2 separate regions of the Homo sapiens genome follow, and region 2 is linked to region 1. The links are contacts of gene promoters, found by promoter capture Hi-C in blood cells and fetal thymus (Javierre and others, 2016). All regions are on one chromosome and are shown on one strand. The core of a region is centred on a gene start or on the middle of the fragment in contact, and the rest is flanking DNA. Distances in the headings are between cores, read along the strand shown.

The links. The method cuts DNA at HindIII sites, captures the fragments that hold promoters and counts their contacts. A CHiCAGO score of 5 or more calls a contact.
Region 2: a fragment that was not itself captured here is called in contact with the fragment with the promoter of MAPK8 in region 1 in 1 of 17 cell types (monocytes); the score reaches 5.8 in monocytes.

What each region holds. Positions count from the first base shown.
Region 1 is chr10:48,302,874-48,308,978 of GRCh38, reverse strand. MAPK8 (mitogen-activated protein kinase 8) reads right to left here and starts at 2,302. Exons shown (of 12, transcript NM_001323329.2): 1 at 2,158-2,302. RefSeq lists a silencer at 1,722-2,671. The HindIII fragment of the contact is 3,503 bases long and covers 587-4,089 here.
Region 2 is chr10:48,631,876-48,637,932 of GRCh38, reverse strand. It overlaps a transcript of ARHGAP22 not described here. Among named protein-coding and RNA genes, the nearest start is that of ARHGAP22, 30 kb to the right of the region's middle. The HindIII fragment of the contact is 1,681 bases long and covers 1,287-2,967 here.

The DNA.
Region 1 (6,105 bases), core at 1,053-3,552:
CACTTTACAGCAAATAATAAGAAACTCATTAGTTAACTCATTTCATATTCTTTCAAATACAAAACAAACGCTAAACTGTATTTAGTAAGTGGAAAAGAGCTTTAACTTCGATAAATCAATTATTTTGAGTTTTAGGCTCATATTTTGTACCAATTGTGTTAATACAAGTTAGAACTTAAAACCAAACATTTCAAGTAAACATTTCTAAAATATTAGAAATATTTCTAATAAAACATTTATGTGGTTTTGTCCTCAATTTTCCACAATAAGAGTCACCAAAAAACTTTCAAATAATATTCACAAAATTATAAATGCAATCATTTTAGACCCCTACTGAAATACCAGTTTATGAGTGCCTGTGTGTGGATTACGTACATGCACACACACGGACACACATAAACTAGCACATACACAGAAACACACACTCCACAACCTACTTTATTTATCATATTAAAAAAATATTTAGACAAGATTTTATTTTAGGACAGTGAATGACCTACACGTGATTCAAAAGCCCATGTCATCATAACAGATAATGTACATGAACTGACCATTTAGCCATCTGATGCGACAGTTGCATGAAGCTTCCAAAACTTTATGGAGAACATTACGGTTTTTTTTAAGGCTTGATTTTAAATATTATCAATTACAAAGAGCTTTTCATCAATCCGACTTTTATTGAACACTTACTATATTCCAGGCTAGGTGGTGGAGAAACAGATGCAAGACAGGCCTGCCCTCAAGGAAGTCCCATTTTGATTGCTTGCTTTTGTCAGGCACAGCACTAAACATGTTCACTTAGAGCATCTGACCTCCTAGGTTTAACGTTAACCACAGCAGGGGAATCTGAGGTAACCATTACAAATGACTGTAAGGCTGCAAGACTGGAAAAAATAAAATTTAGAAATAAATAAAAGCTGTTGTATATTTAGACCAAATCTAATTCTACTTCCTATTACACTTGAACTTCCAGATATACTGCTTAAAAAATGACCCAGAATATAACCATACCTTCCTTAACAGACATCACTTATGTAACTGTCTCATTTAAAGGTCCATCTATTATACTTCAGTCAAAGCATCCTCTTCCATGAAAGGATACTTTACCTTCACACCAAACCTCTTCATCTGAGTACGGTACTAAACAGCTGCTGAATGAATGAATGAATGAAAAAACAGATGTTCTAATTGCCAAGGAGGTACTTGCTGGATGCTTATCTCAAAACACAATGGACTGACGGACCAGAATTCTACTGGAAAGATCGCTGGATTTCAGAGGTAAAAATAGTAATCACTGGACAATGCCATGTAGTCAACATGTTATTAAATTCGCAGTAAAGACCAAGCAGGGAACTTTCAGAAATAAAAACGGAAAGTGTTCATCAGGGTACTTTAAAATGGACTTGGTTCTACCATCTCTGAATCGGGAACACAAATGCGAGACAAAGAGATGGGAGGGTGGGGTGAAAAAGTCAAAAGGTCACCACCGATGACCCTCAAGAGAAATGCGCGCTGACCACCGAAGCTCGGGCCAAGCTGGATGGACACCTCCCACCCGAGCCACGGGCCTGGGCTCTCTGCCCTGCAGCCCAGAGCTGCAGGCCACTCTGGCCCTTTTCAGCGCTGCTGCCTGCGTTCGCCCAGAACGTTAGCACAAAGAAAGCATCGAGAAGCAAAATACGGTCCCTATGGGCGCGGGGCAGGCTTGGGGACCTGCCGGCAGAAGCGCTCTCCCCGGCTCCCCGCCGCCCCGGAGGCAGCCAGGGCGCGGCGGGCCGCAAAGACACCTCCGTCCGACCCTTGCCGAAGTGTTTCAGAACTTGCCACCCACCCCCCCGCTCCATTTTCTTCTCCCGCCGCGGAGGCAGGACCCACGCGAAGAGGACGCGAGAGGACAGGCGGGCGGGGCTCGCGGCGGCAGGCGGGCTGGCGGGCAGCGGAGCGCACCCAGGTCCCGCAGCCCCACGCCCCCTCGGCTGGCCCCCGCCTCCGCGCCGCTATTGTTCCCGCGCCGCCCCCGCCCACCGCGCGCTCCCGCCCCCACTCCCAGGAGGGGGTTACGGCTGAGGAGAAGGCGGCGGCGGCGGCAGCGGCACAATAACATAAACACGACGGGGCCGCCTGCCGTCCCGGCCCTGCGGCGTCCGCCGCACTCACCCGGCAGCGCAGCGAACGGCGACAGGGAAGCCCGCCAGCGGGGACAGGGGCCGTCCGGGGTGGTCGCCGCGGCCGTTACCCAGCGCTGCTCGCGGCTCCGCAATCCAAGCCGCGTCGTCCGGCCTCGGCCGCTCGGCTGAGTAACAGAGACGCGGGCCGTCACCGCGCACGCCCGCGCACGTCATCGCGCAGGGCCCCGCCCCCGCGCCTCCCGAGCGGCCGGCGGGGCGGGGCAGCCCCGGGGCCCGGATTGCGGGGGCGGGGCCGCCGCCCGGGGACGGCGCTACTCCAGGGGTTACGAGAGGACTTGCGGAGGTCGCTTGGAGGCGGAGCCGCGGAGAGAGCCTCCGAGGGCTGTGGGTGAGGGGCGTGGCCTGGAGCGGGAGGGGCGGGCCCTGTGGCGGCACGTGGCGGCGCGTGGCCCCAGGGGACCGCATCTGGTTGGCGGCGGTAGCCAGGTCAGAGCTTAAGCCTTCGGGCCTCGTCGGCACAGGGTTGAAGGGCAGGTGCGCTTAGGCCTAACCTGCGCAGCGAACAGGCACCCCCTTCCGGTACACACACCTGAGTGATGAAGAGCTGGTTACCTTGACCGACAATATGTTCCATTCTGAGGACACCTGTCCGGGTCCCAGAAACCTACAGAGAGATAAGTGTTCTCTTCAGCTGCCCGGGAAAAGCTGCCTCCAGTTTTTCCAAAATCCACCTCCTCCGAGATTCCTTGCAAATCCACCTCTTCCCAGATTCCTTGCATTACCTGGTTTACTTCTGAGGCCCCACAAAGCGTGTAAATGTTACAGAAGCGATAAATTGACAAGTCCTTTAAATATCCAACAACGGGTGGAAAGGCGTTTGAACTACCTACACCATTCGGTAGAATACATTTTAGCAATTTAAATGCCATGTGTTCAAGGAATTCTTAACAACATAGGAACATGTTCACAATGTATCATTAAGAGAAAGAAGCAAGAAACAAGTCATATATAGAATGGTCCCACTTAGATACTATATATACACATAGAAAAAACCTGGAAAGAAATACACCAAATTATGTTAACAATGGTTCATCATTGGACTATGGAATAAAGGGTGACTTGGTTCTCGTTTATACTTTGGGTATTTTCTCATGTTTTCCGAGAGGAATAGTTATGTTCACAATCAGAAACAAGTAAGTTACTTTAATAATGAATATATAAATATTTGTTGAATAAATGAATGATTTCAGGTAAACTACTTTCCTATTACATGTGGGGCTGGCCTGTTTCTGGTGATTCTGAAAGGGAACATACAGATGATTATTCATTCATTCTCTTCCCATTTCCTCTCTCCCTCCCTCTCAACCTTCTTAATTTCCTTCCTGCCATCCTTTGTTCCTGCAATAATTATTTATTGCATGCCCATTCAGTGCCAGGCAATACAGTAGAGTTTACAGATTTAATCACTGTACTATGAAAGTAATAATAGTAAACGCAAAATTATCACTGTTTTATAATACAAATTGTTAAGGATACATAATACTATGAAACCAATTAATACACTAGTTAATAAGGCCAGAAAAGATTTCCCTGAGGAACTGTCACTTGAGCTGGGAATAGGTTTGACTAGACAGAGAATATTTTAGAGGTAGCTTTGCACGCAAAGGTCCTCTGATGAGATTAAGCAGGATAAGATGGAGAAATTCAGGAAAGGCCAGCTCTGCTGGAGGAGCAAGGAAGAAGGAGCTATGAGATGAAGTCAGGAAGATTGGTAAAGGGACCAAACGTAGGACATCCATATTGGCCATGTTGAAAATCTTTTTATCCTAAGTGCAATGGGAAGCCCCTGACATATTCAGCAAAGGGTGTGGCATGGTCAGAATAGCTTCTTGAAAAGATTCCTTATTGGAAAGAGCCCAGGTGGATGTAGGAGTAGCCTAGACGGTAAGAGGTGGAAGCTTGATCTAGGGTGATGGTCATGGAAATAGTTGATGGACATGGAAAGATCTGTGAATTATTTAGGAGGTCCAACGGGCAGAACTTGCACATTCTCCAAGTGATGGGTTATGTGGGGCAATGAAGGAGAGGGAGTCATCAAGGAAAACTCAAAGGTTTCTGGCTTGTGGCCAAGGATGGATGTTAGTGCTGGTTTACCAAGATGGGAATCTTGGAAAAGGACCAGACTGGCATTAAAATATCATGAGAGCAGGCTGTTTGGCTGTTTGAAGGCTTTTGAGATGCCCAAAACTGATGTTAAGTTGGTGGTTGGATATACAGAGCTGAGGTTCAGCTAGTTAAGAGACGAATCATTGACAGTGAGTGATTCCTTGAAGCCTTGGGATAGATGGGTCAGCCTAGGCCTGAGGAGAGGGCCTGCAACCAGGCTTGGGGAACTTCAGTGTTAAAGGGCCACAAAGGGGAAGATGAGTCTGTGATGAGCTGCCAGGGAGATAGAAGGATAACCAGGAGAGAGGTGTTCAAGAAGAAAGGGCTGATCAATAATATTAAACATAAGAGGAGGCTTGGAATCCTGGAGTAATAGAACCAGAAGTGAATTAGAGTGGGCTGGGAAATGAATGGGAGGTGAGAAAATAAAGGTGGTGAATATGGATGAGTCGGGCAGTGAAGTAGGACACAAGCATATTTTACATCTGATGGGAAGACTGTTGAGAGGGAGAGGTTGAATACACACAAAAGAGAAGGAAGACGTGTGTTTCCAGAGAGAACGGGGTGTGATTGAGTGCACAGACAGAGGTACCACCTACTCTTCACCAGACAAATTAAAGGCCTGGAGGTAACAAAAAACAATACAACCCTTAGAGCTGTTGTGAAGTGAGGGGAGTTGCTGGGAGCAGAGCTCCAGAGTTTCACGCCCAGTTCTGTGATGCTATTGTTAATAACCGCCTCTGTCTCACTCCACAGAGTGAGCTTCTGACTTAGTATCAGTCTACCATGGTCAGCTTCTGATTATCTACAACTAGAAAGAACATTCCACATATTTACATATGTGCGTTTGTGTGTTTGTGTGTGTGTATGATTGATTTCAGAAAGCATTTTGCTATTTCTGATGGAATGTAATTATCTCTGATATTCTGCAAATTCAAAATGCTTTTCTGTAACCCAGATGCAGTGTTGGGCCTTCTTCTTCCTTTTCATGCAATTCTTTCTTGTCAACCTGTTAGGGTTCCTTGTTAACCTATTAAGGGGCTGACTCAGAAAAAGAGGAAAATATAGTGAATTCAGGTTTCTTGTCTCTTGTCCCAGGGGAGCTGTCTTGGGGACACCTGGTCTTTGGATACCTCTGAGGCTGGGATGGGGAAAGGAGAGAAGAGGAACTGTAGGCCTTTCAAACTCAGCCTCTGCTGGAGCCCTGAGGGATGTTCAAGAAGAGGTTGCACTCCACCAGAGTATCTCTTCCCTTGTCATCCCAGACCACACACAATGGATTGCACTGAAGATGTTTCTTTGGCTAAGGTAGTCAGGTGAATATCACCAAGCTGTTCAGGGTGCAGAAACTGAAAGCTGAGACTTCAACTTACTTCCTAATTCCCTGACCTCACCCCAGGGGTGGGGAGTTGGGTTGGTGGGAAGGTACTTACCAACTAAAGCCTGCAGAAGGGCATCTCCAAGGACACTCCCTCTCCCCTGACTCCACCTCCACCACCATCCTTCTCTGTTAGCCTTGCTTTCAAGCCTCCCAGTCTCGTCTCCCACCCATGTCTCCAGTCAAGTCTACTTTTCCCCCAACAGGAGGGAGAGGTTCAGCACCTTGGTCAGTCAGTCCCTGACTCAGGGATGTTCTTTGAGAATCTTTCAAGGTGGAGCCTGCTGGCTCCCGATAAAGCAAGACAGACCCTGGATGCATGAGTAGAGGAAAGATGAGTGTTCGTATTGTAAATCCATCCTCCAGCTGCAAGAACTGTGGCTCCTCAGGGGTAGGAAAGGGCCAAAAATGGCCCGAGCTCCTCAGTCGCAA
Region 2 (6,057 bases), core at 878-3,377, 330 kb before region 1:
TGCACAAGTGGCTGGCAGCATGTGGAAAAGGGGGAGAAAGAAGGTAAGTTGATGCCAGCCTACTGGCTTTAGCAGCGAGGAGGATGGAGACATCCTTGTTGGGAGGGGAATGTAGGTGAAGGGGTAGGTGAAGTGAGGATACTTTGTGCCTTTTCTTACTGACCCTTCCAGCAGGTTCTGCCTTCTTTTCATCCCGTCTCACTGATCCCAGCACCATCCATTCACCCATTCATCCACAATTCATCCATCCACCCATCCACTCATCCACCATCCATCTATCCATCTATCCATCCATCTATTCACCCATTTGCCATCCATCCATTCACCCACCCATCCACCATTTATCCATCCATCTACCCATCCATCCATCCATTTACCCATCCATCCATCCATTTATACATCCACCAGTCATTCATCCACTCATTTCTTTACCATCCATCCATCTACCCACCCATCTACCATCTATCCATCTACCTACAAATCCACCCATTCACCCACCCGTCCATCCACCCACCCATCCACCCACTCATTCACCATTCATCCATTGGCTACTCATCTGCCACTCATTCATTCACCATCCATCCATCCATCTGTATACCTGTGTCCCCTGTCGGCCATCTCTGGACAACAGCTCTGTGAGTGATGAATGACACCTATTGTGTGGCCTCACACAAGCAATAATTCATGGCTCCTTTCTACCCCTTGCCCCCCACCTCGACACAATAGTTGGAGCCTGTCTCCATCTGCAGCTTCAGAAATATGGATGCCCAGGGCAGTAAACTCTCAGTGGCATTCATCTAGAGGCCTGGTTGGCTTCTGGGGAGATCAGCTTCTCAGAGACTGGCCTGGCAGGGATGGCAGCAATGTGTATGCAGGCAGCTTTTCTGATTGTCCTAACCACCCATTCTGGCCCTTCACGCTGGAGCTCTCAGAATGAAGCTAAAGTCCTGGCCATCATGAGAAAGCCTCTCAGACTCCGGCCCTCCCTGATATGTCTTCTGCCCACCCCAATGTACTATTCCAACTTGTTACCTTTTACTTTCATATCCTGATTCTATGAGTGGCTCTGCTTCCTGAACCCTTTGTCCTGTCCCTTCTGACTTCCCTCCCAGCACTCTGGGTTTTGCATGCCACTCAAGGTCTGGGCTTTGCCTGCCCACTTCGTGGCCTCTTTGTGGTGACCTCAGGTGAGAACTCCTCACTGGTCTCCCACTGTCCTACTAGCGATGACTATAGCCATGGGTCTTGAGCTGGTACTGTTTGCCAGCAGTCATGGCTCTAAAGCTTGGACACACATAACACGTGTAAAGATATATCCCCTCCTCTCTAGGAGATCGTGGTCTGCAAAAGGGCAGGGCTGTGGTGCAGGTGGTACAAGGAGCAGCAAGAAACAGGAGGACCCCGATGCAACCCATGGATTCAGGGCAGGGTCTCAGAGCAGGGAGAATCCCTGTTGGCTCTTGGAGCCTGGGCAGGAGCAGCCCAGTGGGCAGACTCAAGCAGACATTCCTGGAAGAGGACCAGGGCCATACCACAAGCTCTAAGGCCTCCATCCTGCTCACCCCAGTCTCCCTGCACAAGCACCAAGCATGGGACACAGGCACACAGACAGCATGGATGCAGGGCTGGGCTGGAAAGACCCAGACACCCTGAATGTCTCCTTCATGCAGTGTCCCCACAGCTAACATGCCTTTATCGACAGCCACCAGAGAAATGCTGAAGCTGTGCAGGGCAGAGGAAGAAGGAGCAGCCATGTCATTAACCCCTTAACCCCCAAGCCTCTCCAGGATGTTCACCTGCACCTGGCAGCACAGGACCCCTGGGAAATGAGTCTGAAGATGGAGATTTTCCTTCTTCTTTCTTTAATGAAAAGAGAGAGAGAGTAAGGACCTGATGCTACCACCAAACTAAAAATAATAATAAATAACAACATTGAGATCACCTTGCACGGTTTACAACTCTCTTCAATATCCACAGGGGTGATGTCATTTAATTCCTGTAGCCAGCTTGCAAGATATTAATGTTCCCATTTTACAGAGGAGAAAACTGAAGCTCAAAAGTGCAGTCCTTCCATCCTGCTTCCCCAGCCAGGAAGTAGTCTAAGTTTATGTTGTCCAATAGCAGAGCCTAAGACAAGGGCTTGGGTGCAGGTGGTTTATTTGGGAGGTGATGCCAGGAAGCAGGACTGATGGGGCAAAGAGTGACACCAGGAAGGAGGGAAGGCCAGTGTGAGGGGCATAATGAAGGTTGCTGCTGTCCCAAGACTCACTTCCACAGGGACTCTGGGAAGAGTGCAGACTCACCTGCCATAAGCCTGGAAGGGGAGAGGGTGGGGGTTACCCGGCCCCCTTTCTCCCTTGGCTGAGGGCAACCCCAGGGGTGTGGACACCCAGCCCTTCTGGACTGCATTTGTTTGCCCAGGGCTTAGGGTCCCTGTGGCTTCAGAGAAAGCCGAGGGCTGAGAGCCTGGAGCGGGAAGCCATCAGTGGGCTCACCTAAGAGGGGACGTTTCACCACAGCTGTGGCTGAACTTGGAGCTGGCCAAGGGGCTGGGACAAGTTACGGAGCACCCAAAGCTGTGCTTCAAGCTATAACCTAAACCCCAGGCATTTTTCTCTTACCAACCTTGGAGGAGTATGAAACTAGTCATGCCTGAGGAGACAGGGAGTCGGGGTCCAGGGAAACACCAGGCCCAGTGCAGAAGTGGGGGTGGGGGCAACAAGAGACAGAGGCCCAGAAACAAGGTGAAGTGCTTCATTCACGGTGGACCCAGAAGGAGCCTAGCCTCCAAGAGCCTCCCATGGGTGCTGGAATTCCCTTGTTCACACTGAGGAAGAGGGAGGGCAGGTACATGAGTCTGCTCGGGCTGCCATGACAAAGCACCTCGGGCCCCAGGGCTTTCACAACATACATGTATTTTTTCCCATTCTGGAGGCTGGAAGTCTAAGATCAATGTGTTAGCAAGCTTCTTTCTCCTCTCTCCTTGGCTTGTAAATATCACCTTCTTCCTGTGTCTTCACACAGTTGGTATCTGTGTCCTTATCTCCTCTGCTTATAAGAACTCTAGTCATATTGGACTAGGGCCCACCCTAATGACCTCATTTTAACTTAATCACTCATTTTAACTTTGATATTTAAAGGCCCTATCTCCAAATACAGCCACTTTCTGTATGGGGCGGTGGGGGTTAGGCTTCATCATGAACTGGAGTCGGGGGACACAATTCAGCCCTCTTGCTTTCCTGGGCTCAGAGCTGTCAGCCCTGAGAAGCAGAGGAGAGTCTATTCCAAAGAACAGGCTGGGCAGAGCCTCAGAGAGTGTCTAGACAGATGCCCTGCCAGCCACACTACCCTCTAGGGAGCCAAGCGGAAGCCCAGGCTCACCCACCCCCAGCCACAGAACCAAATAAGGGCTGAGTCAGCGGCTCTTCTTAGAGACCCAGTTTCCTACAATGGTTTCTGTTTCTGCACATCTGGGAGAAATGATTTGACTCTGGGAATGGTTGTGAAATGGGCAAACCACAGTGCAGGCTCACCGCCCTCTGCACCCAGCAGCTTATCCTCTCCTATGGCCCAGCTCTGTGGGGGCAGAGCACTTTTCCCTGTTGGCTAGATGAGGAAGCAGAAGATCTGAAGTTTACTGACTTGCCAAAAGCTCACAGCTAGTTAGTGGCAGACAGGACTCAACCCAGATCTGAGCTGACCCATCTTTAGTGCTCACTCACAGCAGTACCTCTGCTTTTAGGGACATTGATGGCACCTTTTGGCTGCTCCCATCAAATCCGCCACCCAAATCTGAAAGTACCCATTCAGCTACCCATGATACTACTGAGCTACTAGTGCAAACTGGCTTCTCTCAACAGGTGAGCTGGCTAGCAGATAACACTTCCTGCCAGTTATCATAGAAACAAGCGTGGGAGGAAGCAGCATCCTGGTGGCCAGGAAGAAGGTGAGGGAGAACATAGGGCATAGATGCCCATGGTGTCAACTCTCAGACACCTGCCCCAGAGATTTCCAGGAGTCAGGGCATCCCGCAGCCAGCTTGGCCCAGCATTCAGTTAGGAAAGGCTCTCCCTCCTCCCATGCCCAGCCCTCTGCTCCCTCCTCCTCTTAGCCCCGTGGAATGATCCTGTCTCTATTAACCTGCCCATCTCCTTCTGCAGATGGATGTCAACAGGGATTTTCTTGTGGAAAGTCCACAGGGAAAGCCAGCCCTCCCTCCCTGCTGCTGGCATCATTTTCCCACAAAATGTAAAAACAGTCTAGAGAAAGCCAGGCCTGGGTGTGGATCCAGGTTCTACCACCTGCTTACTCTATGCCCTTACTCAAGTGATATAATCTCTCTGCTTCATTTCCTCATTGTAAAAGTGAGACCACAATAGGCCATATCTCACAAGACTGTAATAAGGATTACATGTCTAATTAAAAGAAAAGAGTTCAAGGAAAGGCACAGGGTAAACCCTGAATAAGTGGGAACTCCCTTCCAGACAAACAATCAGATGCCACTGTTAATCTCTGGCTGAGAATTGTTTCCTTTGGGAATTTTTTGAAAACCAAGTGATATGATGGAGACTCTGGACACAGGAACCCTACATTTGGAGCTTTCTCCCAGTTTTACTTCTCCAGCATGCAGTCACTGCAAACCTCAGACCTGGGAGTCTCAGAGGAAGGTAGATTGTCTGCAGAAATGAGAGCTGACTGGGGCCATTAAAGGTGGACAGGCCTGGGAAATGATCTCAAAAGTTTCCTAAGGGTTGATAATTTATTCAGTCACCCAGCAAACATGAGTTGTGCCAGGCACTGCTCTAGGCACTGGAATACAGCAGGCAACATAATTGGCAAAAACTCTTACCTTCTGGAGCTCATGCTCTTCTCATATCATCCAATGGAAAGGCCTGAGGGAACTGTCCACTGATGTCCTCCGTGTGGCAGGTGATGTCCTCTGGCAGGTGACTCAGGATCTTCCAGGGGTAGATGAAGGAAAAGAATAGTCAGCGTTGTGCAGTAGTGATGAAAATGGAAAGACTCTGGCTTCTGGTTTCATCTTTGACATGTGAAAAGCTTAGACATTTTCACTCTCATCCTTACAACAAGGTAAAATCTGTGCAAACTTAAAATCAATGATTTCGCTCTGGCATCTGCAGACACAGCAAATATTAAAGACGGCACAGCTCCTAGCCTGGGTGGTTTTGGGAACACCCCCCAATTTGCAGTTGGTGTTGGAAGTGAGGCTGGTCTTGTGAAGACCTGTGTGCACTCTAAACTTGGAGTTGGCCAACTCCAGGCAGTGACAGAAAACAAACCACAGACCTAAGCAGGATAAAAACAAAAAATATACACATCTTAGGTGTCTCACATTCAAAATGCAGAAAACAAAAGACAGAGAAAATCTTGAAAGAAGCCAGGGGTATGGGGATCACCTTTCCTTTAGAAGAACAAGGATAGGAATTATATCAGACTTCACAACAGAAGTCATGCAAGCAAGTGGAGAGTGAAGGGAAATATTTCAACTGTTGAAAAAAAAATATGTTGAATAGTTTGTACATTAAAACTGCTGCAATAAAACTCCCTACCAACATAGGATTGCATAACTACTGGAATTTTTCTTCAAAAGTGAAGGCTAATAGAAAGGAATGAAATAATGTCTTTTGCAGCAACTTGGATGGAGCTGGAGGCCATTATTCTAAGTGAAGTAACTCAGGAATGGAAAAGCAAATATCATATGTTCTCACTTGTAAGTGGGAGCTAAGTTATGAGGATGCAAAGGCGTAAGAATTATATAATGGACTTTGAGGACTCGTGGGGAAGGTTGGGAGGAGGTTGAGGGACCAAAGACTACATATTGGGTACAGTGTACACTGCTCGAGTGACAGGTGCACTGAAATCTCAGAATTCCCCACTATAGAATTCATCCATGTAACCAAAACCACCTGTACCCCAAAAGTATTGAAATAGAAAAATAATTTTCATTGTAAAAAAAAGTGAGACTAAATAAAGACTTTCCCAGACAAACAAAAACCAAGAGTATTCATTGCTTGTCCTACAAGAAATGTTAAAAGA